Regions from separate parts of the Homo sapiens genome. Here region 1 is linked to region 2. The links are contacts of gene promoters, found by promoter capture Hi-C in blood cells and fetal thymus (Javierre and others, 2016). All regions are on one chromosome and are shown on one strand. The core of a region is centred on a gene start or on the middle of the fragment in contact, and the rest is flanking DNA. Distances in the headings are between cores, read along the strand shown. Region 1 has its middle 100 kb from the start of PRSS1. Region 2 holds the start of OR6V1 (olfactory receptor family 6 subfamily V member 1).

Evidence for each region. The method cuts DNA at HindIII sites, captures the fragments that hold promoters and counts their contacts. A CHiCAGO score of 5 or more calls a contact.
Region 1: a fragment that was not itself captured here is called in contact with the fragment with the promoter of OR6V1 in region 2 in 1 of 17 cell types (total B cells); the score reaches 5.4 in total B cells.

What each region holds. Positions count from the first base shown.
Region 1 is chr7:142,643,989-142,647,548 of GRCh38, reverse strand. It overlaps TRB and the pseudogene TRBV23-1. Among named protein-coding and RNA genes, the nearest start is that of PRSS1, 100 kb to the left of the region's middle. The HindIII fragment of the contact is 274 bases long and covers 1,737-2,010 here.
Region 2 is chr7:143,050,501-143,053,895 of GRCh38, reverse strand. It overlaps OR6V1 (olfactory receptor family 6 subfamily V member 1), which reads right to left and starts at 1,555. Exons shown (of 1, transcript NM_001001667.1): 1 at 614-1,555. The coding sequence starts at 1,555. The coding sequence ends at 614. The HindIII fragment of the contact is 11,126 bases long and covers 1-3,395 here.

The DNA of each region.
Region 1 (3,560 bases), core at 624-3,123, 410 kb after region 2:
TTATTATTATAGTAGTATAACGTAATCTCTCAGTTCCTTTAAATTATTGGTTTTATTTAGTTTTAAAAAATTGTCACCTGTATCTTTATGGTAAACACTGATGATATTCTGGCAGTAGGTGAGAGGGTTGCAGGGGTGGGGGGTGGAGAGAAAGAGAGACAGAGATTGGAATCTCTTTACATTGCTAGACTGAGAACAATCTAGATCACTGGATAAGGATTAAAGGAGATATTAGGATGTAGGAAAACACCCTATTCACTTTTATGTGGGATTGCAGATGTATACAGTGATCCTGAAGAACCCGTGGTGGTATTTAGATAGATAAAATATGCATAGAATTCCATGTCTCAGCAATCATGACTTGCTCTGGGTATATAATCCTATAAAGCAATCATACAAGTCTATGAAGGTATTTGTACAAGAATTTTCAATTCTGGCAGAAAACTGGAGAAAATCTGGCTATGTATTTCTGAAGAAATGGGTATGAGTACTCTCTATCATGTAGAAGCAACAAGACCAAATGTACTTACAGAAAAACGGAGCACTTCCCTTTCTTGAGCTGAGTGGAAAAGTAATATTTATGTGATTTTAAATATATACATACATGCCTACTGCTGAGTGCTCTGTGAGAAGGTTAATGGCTGGATCATGACTGATCTGTTTTTTTCTCTTGGGATTTTGAATTGAGGCTTAGAAAGAGCCAGCCTGGTATTTATCAGTGTAGGGAAATGATGGCAACTGAATTTGTAATCTTTAGTGACCATCTCATTCTCACCACGAGGCCTGGAGAAAAAGAGATGGTGTACAGGGAGAGAAAAGCATTCAGCAGCCAAAATTGAATAAAAATCAGCGCTGGAGAGATAGCCATTCTAGAGCCCAGCCCTAGTGGTGCCTTTTCAGAACTTCTATCACCTCTTGACTTCTGCTAAACACCCTTTATCCTTGTGTTAAATTACACTGTGGCTTAAGCTGGCTCCAGTTATTTTCTGTTACTCCCTTCCAGCCTAATACATCACCTGCTTCCTGAGCTGGGTCTGTGACAAGTTTGTGTGCTAAGAGGAACTGACATTTCAGTGCTGTGGATTGACTGCTGGCGCAGAGATACAGTGCCGTGTCTCCCGGTTCTGAGGACAGGATTGCCAGGCTGCAGGGTGCGTTCTTGGGGCATTGAGATGAGAATCGCTTCTTGTGCATCTCCGTTTCTTGAAGAACTTGTTCATTCTGAAAGGAAATCAAAAGCATAAACTCTTTATTCTGATTCTGTTGATACCAATAAACAAAAGTATGTCCTTTTTCGGGGGTACAATCCATCTTTGTTTTCTGTCCTTTTCCTTTGACCAAATGTCCTGGAGTCTGTGTGACTTTGGCATGAAAAGAGTCTGTAAGAGAAAGAAACAGATGCTGTAGAAAGAGTCCAGGAAAGAGCTTAACAAACAAAACAAAACAAAACAAAACAAAACAAAACAAAACAAAACAAAGCTTGGATCTGCTGGTTGGCAAGCCCAGGACAAGGATTTTTCTTTTGTGCTCAGGGCGCATCTGCTGCCAGGAGACACAGGGCTGCACAGCCGAGGAGCCTGGTGCCCATGATCGCATTGACGTTGCAAAGGGATGAGGCTTTTTCATCCCCTTTCTGCACCTTCTTGTGACGTGATCCCTCCACTGACTTATAATCATCATGTTATTGCTTCATGTTCCTGAGCAAAAACACTTCATAGTATCAGGGAAAAAAAGCTTTTATCCTAACTCAGGAAATATAACTCAGTTATTTTGTATTCATTTAAAAATATGTTATGTCTATTTTTGCTAATATAAGCAATACACTCATATTTTAGAAAGTTAGAAAATAAAATAACAAAATAAAAATATGATACCACTGCCAGAAAGCAATTATCACTGTTAACACCTTAGTGAGTCTTTCTAGATCCTTCTCTGCCCCATATATAAATGTGTAGATATATAGACACTTTTTTTAGTAAACAATATTCTTGAAATTCTGTTTGATAAGCTTTTTTTCAGTTAATGATCATCCTTTCTCATCGATGCATTTTCATCTTATCTACTATTTAGTTTTTATGCAAAGTTTCACAGTTGTTTCAAAAACGTCCTTTGCCATTAATTTGAGCATCAGTTTCTAACTCAAGACTGGACATTCCTTCTGGCTATTAGTTATCTAATTATCTTTTATATATTTCAGATCTCTGTTGTAATTGCTATCTTTATGATTCTGAAACTAGTGACTGCTTTGAAAAATACTTCACCTTCTAGCTCTTTCTGGTGTATTTTAGCTTGTTCATTTACTAGTGCTTCTTTTACATAACCTCCCTTTTTTGCTTTTTCTCTCTGTAACTATTTATTTTAAATTGTGCATTTTTTGATGATTTTTTTTTTCGCTTACTTTTCTCTTCCTCCATCTCATCCTCATTTCAGGTAAGTAATGTTAACAGCTTAATGTATATCTTTCCATAGATTTCTCCTTACTAATTTAATTGTTCAGTGAGGTTGTTTTCTCCACATTACAAAATGGACTTTGAATATATAGATAATAACTTGATAAAATACCAACAGAATGATCACTTAAAAAAACAACTTGGCACAGGAAATAAAAGATTACCAGAATATTTGAAAGCTCTTATTTCTTTTCCCAGATTCCATGCCTCTGTTCTCTAACTCTATTGAGGTGTTTGTTTTTGTAATTATTTGCTTCTCTTTTATATTTTAATGCATAGGCACATAAGCAAACAAAATAGTGTTTAGTTTTAGATGCTTTCAAACTTTACACAAACGAGACAATACTGTACCTTTCTTCTGCAATGTAATTTTTCATTCAAATTTGTGAAATTCATTCATGTTTGTGTGTTTAGTTTTAGTTCATGAATTTTCACTGCTGTGTAATTTCTTTTTAATAACCAGGATTTATTCTTCTCTTAAGTTACATTTGGATATTTTATACGTTTTTGCCATGACAGATGTATTACAGTGAATATTCTTGTCCTGATTTTCGTAGAAGGGTTTCTCTAGAAAAGCCTTTCTCAAGGGTGGAATTGATGGATAGTGGGTACACACATCTTGAACTTTACTAGATAATACCAAATTGTTTTCCAAACTGGATCTACCGATATACACTCTAGCCAGTGATTCAGAGAGTTCTTGTTGACACTTTGCCTTGCCAACACTTGATAGTTACTATTTTTATCATCGTAGCCATTCTTGTGGGTATATATTTCGTTGGACTCAATTTCTATTTCCCTGATTATTAAATATAGCCACATTTACATGTTTAATGACCAGTGAGATTTTGCTAGGTGCTTATGGTTTTCACTCACTTTTTCCATTGACAGTTACCTTTTTCTCATTGATCTGTAGAAAAATTAGTTTGTAGGTTTTTAAAAAATTTATATACTAGCTTTTCTTGAATATATAAATATAAATAGGGATATTAATTTGGTATAAATATATAGATATTTAATGATATGTCACTATACAGTCAATCTTGTCACTGTTACATAATTAACATTGATAAATTCAATATGTTAATTTTGATATAGCCATTTTTATCA
Region 2 (3,395 bases), core at 306-2,805:
CTCTACCTGTTACAGTGCCTGACACACACAGCCTACTCAATGTTGAAGAAATGAATGAATAAATGGATGAATAATTATACAAGGACCCAGTCCTCCTCCCAACACTCACACACACATTGAAAAACAATCAGTTTGTTTTTGGTAAGTTTTGCTTCTTCTCTTGATCCCATGTAGCCCAAGCACTTATGGTGCATACACTCAGCAGCAGTGCATACTGTGATAGAGAAGCACACCCGGAACATGCACACGCATACACACATATGTACACACATACACACCCATGCACACATACTGGGATTGGACACTACCTCTTGATCATAGAGCACTTCTTGGCTGCTCTTCCTTAAATGCAAAGCACATGCACTTCCCTTTACTGAAAGCTCTGGGCTACTCTCAGAGTTCTTACGGCTGCCAGGGGATGTAGGGAACTCTTCCATGGTGGTCCATAAGAGCTTTGGGCCAGACAGTGCAGCACTCAGGGCTCACTGTAGTTATTGCTCAGAGGGAAAAAAACTAAAGAAACTCAGCAGTGTTCTTCCCACTTGCTGGAGGTCTCCCTCCCCACAGAACTGCTCAATGGAGGCAGGCCAGGTTCCCCTGGGCCCTGGGCTCATCATTGTGCCTTGCAAAGGCCTTTCAGCCTCTGCATCTGCCCCTGTAGCACTGTTTTAACTGTCTGATTGCAGAAGGTAAGGATAAAGGGATTGAGAAAGGGGGTGAGAACTGAAGTCACCAAGGCCACGACCTTCCTGACTTGCACAGAGTGAGCTTTGCCAGGCCTGACATACAGAAAGATGGTACTACTGTAGCCGATGAAGACCAGTGTGAGGTGAGACCCGCAAGTGGAGAAAGCCTTCTGGCAGCTGCTGGCAGAGGGGATCCGCAGCACAGTGGTCACTATGTAGCCATAGGAGATGAGGGTCACCAGGAAGGAGCTGAGGACAAAGGTCAAGGCCATCAGAAAGTCCCAGAATTCCAACAGGCGAGTGTCAGAGCATGACAACTGCAGGAGAGGTTCATTGTCACAGAAGAAGTGGTTGATGACGTCGCCATGGCAGTAATCAAGATGAGCTCGGGAGAGGACAGTGGGTACCATGGCTAGGAAAGGAGCTGCCCAGGCAGCCCCAGCCAGCTGGACACACATAGCCCGGCTCATCAGAGTGCCATAGCGCAGTGGGTGGCAGATGGCCACAAAGCGATCAAGGGCCATGTCTGTCAGGATGAGGAAGGAGGTGGACCCCAGGGAAAAGTGGAAGTAGAACTGGACCATGCAGCCAGTGAAGGTAATGACTTTGTGGGGGACCAACAGGTCTGAGAGCATCCTGGGCACTGCAGTCATGGTTACCAAGATCTCCAGCAGGGAAAAATTGCCCAGGAAGAAGTACATGGGTGTATGTAGGTGGGTGTCAGCTATGACCATAACTATGATGATGGTGTTTCCCATGAAGGCGAGAAGATAAAGCATGAGGAAGGGGCCATACAGAAGGGCCTGCAGCTCACCAAAGGAGGAGAAGCCCAAGAGGACAAATTCGGAGGGCTGGCTCAGATTTGCCATGATCCACAGTATGGGGCCCTGCATGCAAGAGAAACAAAAGACAGACGGAGAGGCAGAAACAGAGAGATAGAGACAGAGAACCATTGAACTTGAAACAGAAGAAACAGGGACAGAGACAGAGAATAGAGAGAGAAAGGCAAGTAGCCAGCGAGTGATAAACAGAAAAGCAGAAAGAAACGGCAATAAAGAAAGATAACAAAACAGGAATGGGAGAGTCAAGGAGAAACAGAGTGAGGGTATGAGAGAAGTGAAAGACATAGAAAGCCATTATTAAGAAGAGAGAAGGCTGGGGATGGTGGTTCATGCCTGTAATCCCAGCACTTTGGGAGGCCGAGGCAGGGGGAACACTTGAGGTCAGGAGTTCAAGACCAGCCTGGCCAACATGGTGAAACCCTGTCTCTACTAAAAATACAAAAATAAGCCAGGTGCAGGCAACTGTAATCTCAGCTACCTGCAAAACTGAGGCATGAGAATCGCTTGAACCTGGGAGGTGGAGGTTGCAGTGAGCCGAAATCGTGCCACTGCACTCCAGCCTGGGTGACAGAGTGAGACTCCATCTCAAAAAAGAAAAAAAAAAAGGGGGGGAAGAAAGAAAAACAGAGGAAAAGATTAAGGAAGACCACATGGCAACAGACATTGACATTTAGGGAGAAAACAAGAAGGAAACAACAGAGGACCAGAGAAAGAACAGAAAAAATTCAAATAGAGAAATACAGGAAGGGGAGGAACACAGAAAAAGAGAGGGAGAGAGAGCATTAGTGCATGTGACCCAGAAGCCCCCAAATGTAGGCTAATCCGTCTATGTCACACCCAGAGGTTGTGCCCCAAGACCCTTTTTAAAGGGTCCCTGCAAACCTTTCTGAGCTGCCTCTCTGAGGACCCTCGCTTGTGCACATTTCTCCGGCTATGATCATGAAATTAGTGAAAGTCAGAGTTTTGAGTCCAGAAATTAACTTCCTTTAGAGGAGACCTCTGCTTCGTGTTTGCAAAGATGGAGAGCAGAAAGGGTGCAGCAGGTCAGGGAGCGAGCCTGGAAATCCAAGTGGCTGCTCTCCCAGGACACACACAGTCATCAGGCTTCCCAACGGCATAATCTGTCTACCCAAGGGTGCTGCTTTGCCGTCTCCATTGCACTTCCCCTCCCGCCGTGGTGCAAAGTGTAAGCTATGGAGTTGGCTTGCCTGTGTTTGAATTCTGGCTCTAGACTTGCTTGTCACGGGCCGTAAATCTGCTCTTCTTTGTTACTTACTCTCTCTGAGCCCGTTTATTCAGCTGTAAAATAATGGTATTACTGGTACTTAGCCTCTATGGTGATTATAAAATTAAATAAGTAAACTACTTAGTGCAGTGACTAGCACATACTAGCCAACAAATCGTTGTTGTTATTGTTATCACTGTTCTTATTGTTAGACCGTCAATAGAACTCAAATTTTTTTTGCCCATCATCTCTCTACACTTCTTCTCATTGCCAGCATGTGTGTGTGTGAAGATCTTTACAGCTTTACACTGTTTCTTGGAATTTCAGTTCACTAAAAGGGTACTTTAAAACATTTCAAACACAAACAAAGTATTTACAACACAAACTGTCAGGAGTGGAAGGAGTGAAGCTGTGTGTAGATATACTCTGGCCCTTTCTCCAGCCCCATAAATGCTTCATTTGGGGTTGTGTCCTGGCCACACAGCAATGACATTCTAATTTTAAAAAGCCTTGCACCCGGCCAGGCGCGGTAGCTCACGCTTGTAATCCCAGCTGTTTGGCAGGCTGAGGTGGGCGGATCACGAGGTCAGGAGTTCAAGACCAGCCTGGCCAACACAGTGAAACCCCGTCTCTACTAAAAAT